Linked DNA regions of Homo sapiens: all the other regions are linked to region 2. The links are contacts of gene promoters, found by promoter capture Hi-C in blood cells and fetal thymus (Javierre and others, 2016). All regions are on one chromosome and are shown on one strand. The core of a region is centred on a gene start or on the middle of the fragment in contact, and the rest is flanking DNA. Distances in the headings are between cores, read along the strand shown.

Region 1 (3,210 bases), core at 651-3,150, 350 kb before region 2:
CAAACAGACTAGTAAAATAGAATATAAAAATCTAGTAAAAAATAAATATGTGCAAGTATTTGGGTGATTTACGTTTGGTGAAAAAAGTTAGATTCTCTAACTTTGGAAAGAAACTTAAATTTTTATTTTTGGATAAACAAAACATGATATATCCATATCATGGAATGTGCCATACCTTAGCAATGAAAAGGAATGAACTACTAATATATGCAATATATGCAACAAAAGGATGAATGTCAAAATCATCACGCCAAGCGAAAGAAGACAGACACAAAAGAGTACACATAGCTGTTACTCCATTTTTATTGCCTAAGACCGGGGTGAAGGGTGGGATAGACTGCAAAGGTAAACAAGGAAACTTGGGACAGTAACAGAAATGTTCTATATTTTAATTGTGACGGCAGTTCCATGAGTGTAGCTATCAAAGCTAATCAAATTATATTCTATATCCAATGGATCCTTTAAACAGATGCATTTTTCTTTTGTTAATTGTACTTCAATAAAGTTTAAAAAGAAAAAAACATAAAAGGAATATAAACTGGATCTCACAGATACACAGATTTGTGTGTGTGTATATATATATATATATATATATACAAATTTGTGTTTTTGTGGAAAACAAAATTCCTACATACTCTGTATATGGCCAAGCAGTTACAATTTTACTAGAAAATAAGCAATATATTTCACATCTTTGAACAATGTAGTATTTTTAGATAAGAGTTCCTTGTAATTTTTCCAATTCTTCCTATAAGAAAGTATATGAACTAGACATGGAGTAAGCAAGGCACTGGAATACTTTTGGTATGAATATACTATAAATGAACATGAGTTTTAGAAAAACGAAATTAATCAGCAGGGTTTTTCTTCCCACTGTTAGATAGCTTGACTTCCATTAAATCATTATTATTATCCAATTTGTTACAGTAGTCCAAAGCATTCATTATCTATGTTTGAATTATAATCATTTTAAAAAGCGGTCAGGGCATTTGTACTACTAAGAAAGTCAGTGAAATGTTAAACTTATGGAGAAAACATTCTCATTTTATTTTTAAAGCAAACTGCTGAGGAAATTAAAACTGTTCGTCTCGTAAGAAATGCAAAATCTCAGCTCTTAAAATGGACTGTTAGCAATTAGAGAACAGAAAGCAGTCCCTCTGGGAGGGCTTTGGTGGCCATTTGCCAATAATTAGCTTTCCTCATATAGCAGCATGTATTAGAATCACCTGGAGGGTTTGTTAAAACTCAGATGGCCAGGCCCCATGCCCAGAGTTTTCCATTCAGGTCTGGGGTGGGGTGTATTTGCACTTCAACAAGTTCCCAGGAAAGCCAATACTGCTGGTCTACGGACCACACTTGGAGAACAGGAGTTGCCACAGAGGAAGAGCAAAGAAGAAACTAGAATTGACAGAGGATGAGTAAAGCTTGGCCACAAGTCAATGGGGGAAGGAATGACGTTCTTGTCAATGCAAGCTATTGGCCAATCACTAAGGTAGGGCTTGGGAGGGACAAGGAAGCATTTTTACTAAGTGGTGGGTAGCATTTGAGCTGTACCTTATGAGACTGGTAAAGATAGGGGAAACGTGTACATTGGTGAAGGAGACACCGGGGGCAAAGGAACAGCCTTGGGAAGTATAGAATGTTGTCAGGGAATAACGGAGGATCTGATCAAAGGGAAAGCAGGGGTAAATGAGATGGGAGGGCGGTGTTAGCTTGTGGGGAATGCCCCTCTCCACGGCTGTGGAGGGCGTGCTGCTCTGTGGAGTGAGAAGTTCCATCTTCTGCATCACACACCCCTACGTGGTTTTATGGGGGCTTTTTCTTTCCATTGCTGGACCATTGCCCATGCTAGTCCTCTAATGAAAAGGACCTTCTCACCATCCTTCACTCTGTCACTCAAACTCAATCTTCACTTCAAAGACAAGTTCAAGCCCTATTTCATCCTGTGTTTCTCTCTAAAGACCAAATTCACTTTGAACTGTCCCACCCCGATCTACACCTTGCTAGGCATTGCCCTTTTCTCTAAGTTACATGTATTTGACATCTCTGCAACCTATCAGAAAATTATCTTAGGATAAGGACCATGTCACCCTGTAATGTCCAGTTTGGTGCCAGCTGCATAATAAGAATTGAAAAAAAAAATTCTTCACTGGTTGATTGGCAGGTTACTAATATATAATCAGCAACTGTTGTTGAGGTTTTATTTATTAGAGTGGCACACAGGCAGTTCCGGAACGTGCAGCATCAGCATCCCCTGGGAATGTGTTAGAAAGGCCCAGACCCAGGCTCTGCCCCAGACCCAGGGAATCCCAAACTGTGGGGTGGGGCCAGAAATCTGTTTTAAAACAAGCCTCTCAGGTGATTCTGGTACGTGGTCAAGCTTACAAACCACTGCTTTCTACAAAGCCTGAATCCCAAAACAAGTTCACACAGCTTATAAGGGTCTGTAGATAGCACAGTGATCATTTTTATCATTATTTTTAATGATAAAAATAATTTAAATAGGAATAAAAAATGCTTCGAAGACAAAGCAAGAATAGGAAAACTTAATAGAGCCAACACTGTGCCTAGTGCAAAATAAATACCTCCAAAATCCTTTATACATGTCAGAGGTGGACCATTAAAGGGCCCCTGTGCTTTCTTTTTCTTTCTTTCTTTCTTTCTTTTTTTTTTTTTAATTTTTTTGTGGAGACCCTACGGTGCTCAGGCTGGTCTCAAACTCCTGGGCTCAAGTGATCCTCCTGCCTTAGCCTTCCAAAGTCCTGGGATTGGACTCTGTGCTCTCTAAAGAAGCACAGTCAATTATCAATTCTGTGCCTTCAGAAGAAAAGTCACTTTGAAGCACGATTTCTGGTAGTGAGACTTCCTGGAGCAACCTCATAGAGAGATGGCTGTGTAACCTGCAGTCTGATGTTCCCAACAACAAAACACACATGAATGTTCCCCAAAACACAATGAGTCTCCCAAGGCTGTTTCTCAATATAAGCTGATGATTGATGCAGGCCAGATGCAATGCCTCTGAGGGGACTCTCTAAGGCAGGGAGATAAGCAGCTCCTGAAGATCTGAACTCAATCCAGGGACATAATCTCAGGTGCCCAGAGGAACAGATGAACTGCAAAGCCTCAACCACTCCTCCATAAGCACACTTTCTCTCAGCTGAACTTCTGACACAAAACTGCAGCAACCCCGAGATTCCACCCAGTTAAATG
Region 2 (3,079 bases), core at 95-2,594:
CCCTGACACAACCTTTCCTGATTGTGTGCGCACCGAGTGGGGCATCTTTGGGGTCCTGGAAGAGGGGCTCCCACCTGCCTACATATTCACCCACAGCAAATATGCACACGCACGCGCAACCACATGCACACACACACCTTTGCACCTCACACTAGCTCTCCTGACAGCCCAGAGGCACTTACTACCCGAGGACAGGGCTGCCAGCAAAGCTGCCTTCTCCCAAACAACTCGCCTTCTCCTCCAACTTGGGCGACAGTGAATGTCCACCAAGATTCCACGGGGCTCTTTTACCCAGGACCCAGGTTCCTGCAGGGCTCCCCACTTGCTGGCCTCACAATCCCTTTTCCTTTCTCCGAAACACTCAGACTTCACACATTCCTTTCGAGGTAGCTCCAGTCCGGCGCAGCGCGCGCTCCATCCCTCAAGGCTGGCGCCCAGGGCAGCCCGGCCTCTCTCACTCTGGGGAAACTTCGCCACCGCCCCACGCGGAGAACTAAAGACCACCGGCGGAGGGTGAGGGGGACCGACACGGAGCGGAAAGCAGGTTCCGGGACTGAGGGCGTCTCCGGAGCCTGGGCGCGGGAGACAGAAATGAGTGAACCCAGCTGATGCATGCCTTCTCCACGTGGAAGAAGGGAGGAAATACCAGTGGGCGACATGCAGGTGCCCCTCTCAGCCCTCGGAGCTCCCATCTCCTGGCGGAGTAGGGCCCAGAGGGGCCAGAGTCCCTCCGGAGGCAGCTGCCCCGCGCCCCTAGCCCGGGCGCAGTGAGACGCGCGCGCAGGGTGCACGCGAGGGGAAGGAGACTGGGCGCGGATAACGCGTGCCTGGCGCTTGCAGGGCACCATGCCCCTCCATGCCAGGATAAGGCCCCCCACCCTCAGAGGCCTGAGGAATCGAAATCTGGCTTTCTAGCAGTCCCCCAATCCCCTCCGGGAGTGGGTTCCTTGTTCTCGCATGCCCACCGCAAAGGCCCCCCGCCCTGCTCCCGGCGTGTGCCCCGCGCCCTCGCCCGGTTCCACGCGCACCTGGATGTGGCAGGAGATCTCCGAGTCGTCCAGCAGCCGGATGGTGCATCTCATCTCCTGGCTGAGCGATTTGACGCTGGAGCTCCGAAAGTGGATCATTTTCATGGTCCTCCTGCCTCTCGGCACACAGTGGCAGGAGGCGAACATGCACCGCGGCCGTGGGGAGCGAGCGGGAGGCTCAGGGCCGGCGCGGTGCTCGCCTGCGCGGACACACACGCTCGCACGCACTGTCCGGGACACCTGGGCGCGGCTCAGCCCCGGGACATCGGCAGCGTCGGGCGCCTGCGGACACACATGCCCAGCGGCCGGGGCGCGGCGGGCGGGTCCCTCCCTCTGTTCGCTCGCCTCCGCCTCGCCCCCTCCTTTCCCCGCCTCCTTCTGTCGCGCGCGCTCGTGCGCCTCCCTCTGCCCGGGCTCGCTCGCCGAGGACGCCCAGAGCCTGAGACCCCCGGCGGGCTCGCGACGCACTCACTCCCACGCGCGCCGAGCAGCTGAAGGAGGAGGCGGAGGGATGGCTGGCGCGGCTGGCCCGGGTGCCCTGGTGGTGGCCTGCTCAGTCGCAGCCGCCGCTGCGTCAAGCTGGGCCCGACTGCCTTCCTCAGCCTCACCGCCTCCTCCCTCCCCTGGCCGCTGTCGCTCGGGCTCCCGGTTGTGCTCGTCCCGGCCCCGGCTCCCCAACGCGCTCGACAGCGCCCTGCTCTGCTCAGCTCCAGGGACCTGGCGCGGGTAGGGGACGGAGAGCGATCCTGACCCACACCGCCAGGGGGATTCCGCCTCGGGAAAGGATTGCTGGGCCCAGGGCGAGTGACAGAGAGAGTGACAGCCCTGACACGGCTACACCAGGAATATCGCTAATAGTAAAAATCTCTGGTACTCATGGAGATTGTTTAAGCCATTGTTTTATTTAATGCTAGCTAGGACTCAGTCTCTTTCTCCAAAAAAGAGCCTTCCATGTGCAAATCCTCCTTTAAATCTCCCAACATCTTAGTGTGATCTTTGATAGCATACCTTTGACCCGAGCAAGAGGGATAGGTTCCTATCCTACTCCCCTGCTTTACAGACCTCCTCCAGTTCCCGGTTGCTCAGGAATTAAGAGGTCTAATGGCAAAGCGGATGTGCCCCATCCCGTTTTAGTCCAATCTCTGGGTATTGAGGACTCTGGAATTCCCCACGCGCCTCCAGGGTGTTGAAGGTAGGAGGTATCCTGCCTCTCTGTTGTCCCCAAGGTGGCTAGAGCCACTGTGTCAGGTACCGTAGGCCCGAGAGTGGCCAGGAGCAGCTGTTGAGTCAGGGGTATGGAGCTTGAATGTGAGCACTAGAATGTCCAGGAGCTGGGAGAGATGGAAGTCCTCTCACCCTGTTGCTCTTGCCGGAGCAGAACAGGTCATTAGGAAGGAACATTTGTTAGAAGAGGAGGTGTTGACCAGCTGTCAGCTTTTTCAAGGTTTGTGCCTGCATAGAGTCCCCTCATCCAAAGATATGCCCTGTCCTGGGGGTCGAGGAAGAGTGGCACACAAATTTTACCTGCCCTGGACAGTCTGGTGGGCCATATATTCTCTAGGACACCTAGTGGGGTTGGCTAAGGTTTGGGGGAGTCCGCATTGCATTTGGACTTCTCTCTCTGCCTGCTCCTGCCTCCTCTCCCTGTTGATCACTAATAAATACCACACAGGACAAACTCAGTCTCAGTATCTGCTCCTGGAAATTCCAAATTGCAACAATTTGTCAAGATAGGAGGATAGAGAATGTTTTATGTAGCACTCAATAGCTGACTATTGCTTATGAATATTTAGATGATAGTATGGGGCATTCATGTAGGCTCTTGAGCTGGGCCCTTCAAATGTTAGGGCAGATCCTGATGGAGAGGTCAGTATTGAGGGTATGGGAAGATGTGGATTTCATTCTTGGCCCAGCTACTGGCTAATCCTGGGGATCTTTGAAAAGTCTCTCCATTTCTTTTCTCATTTCAAAGGAGAGAACACCTGTTCATCCCACAGGTGGCTGGGAAGCTGGTATGACACCGGGTCAGTGGAGGACATCTTACAGCTGTA
Region 3 (3,498 bases), core at 524-3,023, 340 kb before region 2:
GACACTCCGGCCACTGTATTTAAAAATCAGTCCTTCCAATGCTATTGTCTCCCTTTGCTGCCTTATTTTCCTCAAAACACCTGTCATCATCATTTTTGTCTCACTCCACTGGAATGTAAGCTCCAGGAAGGAAGAGGTGATTTTGTCTGTTGTGTTCACTGCTGTATCCCCAGGTTCTAAAGCAATGTCAGCTCATAGCAGGGCCTCAGTGAGCTTGCTACATGAATTAGTTAAGTCATAGCCTATGTTGTGGTTCCCTGAAGTGAGAAAAGAGCTGGGATTTACTCAGATTACCAAGGAAACAATGCTGCATTGAGGCTGCCAGTCTGGACATGACCTCCAGCTGACTTTGCTCCAAAGATGAGTCCAAGCACTCCAGAGCATCTCCCTTCTCTTAAAGGGTCATAGACCCATAGACCAGGATTTTGTACATAAAGACTTTCAATATCTGGAGTGAGTTTGATCAAAGGATCTAACAGAGAAATGCAGCTAATGTAGACTTGTGAAGGCAAGAGGGCTTTCCTCTTCCTAGAAAGGCCATCCACCCCACCCAATGATATAGGTTTGGGAGAATCCTGGAGAAGCTGTGGAAGAAGGACACCTGCCTAGCAAGTCAGACCAGGCTGCTGTACCCTGGCTGTTGATGGCAGAACAGAAGTCACAGCCAGACTGTCCATGTGTCCCTGTCTGGAACACAGTTCTCCTCCACACAGCCCACTGCATTCGGCCTTCAACCAAAAAGGTGCTGGAGAATGACAAGCAAAAGCCCATCCAGGGTTCTTAGCAGTGGGGAAAGCATATTCCTATCATCATGTTTTGCTGAAATAATTTTGAATTATGCCTTGGACGTAGAGGATGCCAGAGTTCGGATATTCTCTTGGAAGAGGCCTTGGTAATGGAGGAGACACTCCCAAATAGTAAGTGGATTCTGGAGGCAACTACTTAACCAATCTAGTGCTATTTCAGAATTTTTAAAAAATATAATTGTAAGAAATGTTTTTGGAGTGAAACATGTATTATCACGTGGACCAATATAGCAGTTGGACTCAATGTAAATATTAATGGGACTTTTTTCTATTTCTCTACTCCTCACTACAAATTAGTTACTTGCCTGGGATCTAATTTTACTTAATATGTAGGTAAGGAATAGTGCTTGGCATGATTTCATGCTTGGAATATGTAAGTAAGGAAAAATGCTCAGCAGGATTTCATGCTTGGTTTGTTGTCTCTTCAGTTCTATTCTCAAGTAGTTTAGCATTTTGTTTTAAATGTTTTAGCTCCTAAGGGCATGAATATATACAATAATATCTCCCTTCCCAGATTATCAGACTCCTAAGTCTGACTCCTTCAAGCACCGAGAAGCCAGATCAGGACACAGATGAAAATGCTAACATAACACTGCATCATGCAGATGATTTGAAAACATGGTGACTGAGAAGTGGCTCATCCCAGATGGCTATGGGGTCAAATACATCTCCAGTTATGGCCCTCTGGACAAGTGGCAGGCCCTGCACTCATGAGGGCTCCCCATGTGCTGCTCCCTCCTAATGCCCACCAATAAATCCTACTTCCTGTCCAAAAAAAAAAGAAAAACCACCCATCATAGCAACATGCACTTTGCTCCTTAAGTTCTCATTCAAAGCCTTATTAACTATTATTTAACACATAAGCTTAAGTATGTTTAATTAATTTCTATATCTATGCAGCTTAAAAGGAAAATTGGCTAAAAGACATGAGTCAAGCAGCTGCAATGACTCAGAGATGTAATAGACAATGATAACAAAAGAGAAAACAGAACTATAAATAATGAATATTCATAATGAAAAACAATTGTCAAGCTAATATTTAACTACAACTAACACACATTGTAATGATAGAAAGCTTTCCAATGCACTTTAAAATGAATTTAACAAGAAATGGCATTAAAAGAAAGCAGTATTTTTTTTTTGAGGTGGAGTCTCACTCCGTTGCCCAGGCTGGAGTGCAATGGCTTGATCTCAGCTCACTGCAGATTCAGCCTCTCAGATTCAAGCAATTCTCCTGCCTCAGCCTTCCCAGTAGCTAGGATTACAGGTGCCCGCCACTATGCTTGGCTTGTTTTTTTGTTTGTTTGTTTGTTTGTTTTAATTTTTAGTAGAGATGGGGTCTTGCCATGTTGGCCAGGCTGGTCTCAAACTCCTCACCTCAGGTGATCCTCCCACCTCGCAAAGTGCTGGGATTACAGGCTTGAGCCACCACACCCAGCCAAGAAATTAGATTTTAAGTGTTCTCACCACAGAAAAGATAAGTATGTGAGGCACTACATATGTTAAATAGCTTGATTTGGCCATTCTACTGGTATACATACATCAAAACGTCATGTTGTACACCATAATATATATAATTTTTACTTGTCAATTAACAATAAGTAAATGGACAGCAGTACTTAAAAGAAAAAGATGTACATATTTAGATTATTCTCTTATATGGACCCAACTGTTAATTGTTAAAGCTAGCAAAATGGAAGTTATTGTATATATGGAATCTATATATATAGATATTATATGCCCCATATATATAATCAATAGACGATCGACAGCAATCCATTAAAAATTAGTGTGGGTTCCTACAAAATTTACATTTATTTTTACATTTATTTATTAAATAAATATTGAGTACTTCTAGCTCTTAGTGAGTTAGACAGACTTGGTCTTGCCCTTGTAGACCCTCCTTATGTTCTATTTCAGTCCTTTTTTTTTTTCTTTTTTTGAGATGGACTCTCATTCTGTCACCCGGGCTGCAGTGCAGTGGCGCCATCTTGGCTCACTGCTACCTACGCCTCCCAGGTTCAAGCAATTCTCCTGCCTCAGCCTCCCAAACAGCTGGGATTACAGGCACTCACCACAATACCTGGCTAATTTTTGTATTTTTAGTAGAGACGGGGTTTCATCATGTTGGCCAGGCTGGTCTCAAACTCTTGATCTCAAGTGATTCATCAATTTCAGCCACCCAAAGTGCTGGGATTACAGGCATGAGCCACCACACCTGGCCTATTCCATTACATTTTAGGTAAGTTCGTTGAAAGTGAAAATAGGATGCCTTGAGAGAAAATAGGTAAGTAGACCAGGTCTGTTCTGAAGGTGGTACGGTGGGGGTCTCTCTTGGGGTCCTAAATTTCAGATCTGAAGAGTGAGTATCACTTAAGTAAGTGAGGAGCTGGCTATGGGTGGGCACTCCAGTCAGGAGGAACAGCAAATGCAAAGGCCCTGGGGTGAGAGGAAGTGCATGGTGCCAGCAGAACTAAGGGAGGTCCTATGGCTGGAGCAAGAGGATGAGAGGCAGGGGTGGAAACACTCAGAACGCAAAACACATGCTGATGTAGATAACCTTTATTCTATGGGCAGTGGCAATTCACTGCAGAGTGCCATTCAAAGATGTTTGAAAAACTCATTTTGATGGCAGTGTGGAGAACAGATCAAAGTGAGAGCCTGAGTGAGCATCTGATTGCTTAAGGGGGAC

What was found. The method cuts DNA at HindIII sites, captures the fragments that hold promoters and counts their contacts. A CHiCAGO score of 5 or more calls a contact.
Region 1: a fragment that was not itself captured here is called in contact with the fragment with the promoter of FRMD3 in region 2 in 1 of 17 cell types (endothelial precursors); the score reaches 5.4 in endothelial precursors.
Region 3: a contact is called between a fragment that was not itself captured here and the fragment with the promoter of FRMD3 in region 2, in 3 of 17 cell types (endothelial precursors, M1 macrophages and M2 macrophages). The highest score is 9.7, in endothelial precursors.

The regions. Positions count from the first base shown.
Region 1 is chr9:83,182,691-83,185,900 of GRCh38, forward strand. It overlaps a transcript of RASEF not described here. Among named protein-coding and RNA genes, the nearest start is that of FRMD3-AS1, 35 kb to the right of the region's middle. The HindIII fragment of the contact is 956 bases long and covers 1,423-2,378 here.
Region 2 is chr9:83,537,057-83,540,135 of GRCh38, forward strand. FRMD3 (FERM domain containing 3) reads right to left here and starts at 1,345. Exons shown (of 14, transcript NM_174938.6): 1 at 1,029-1,345. The coding sequence starts at 1,175. The HindIII fragment of the contact is 8,384 bases long and covers 1-3,079 here.
Region 3 is chr9:83,200,546-83,204,043 of GRCh38, forward strand. It overlaps a transcript of RASEF not described here and the pseudogene RN7SKP242. Among named protein-coding and RNA genes, the nearest start is that of FRMD3-AS1, 17 kb to the right of the region's middle. The HindIII fragment of the contact is 211 bases long and covers 1,669-1,879 here.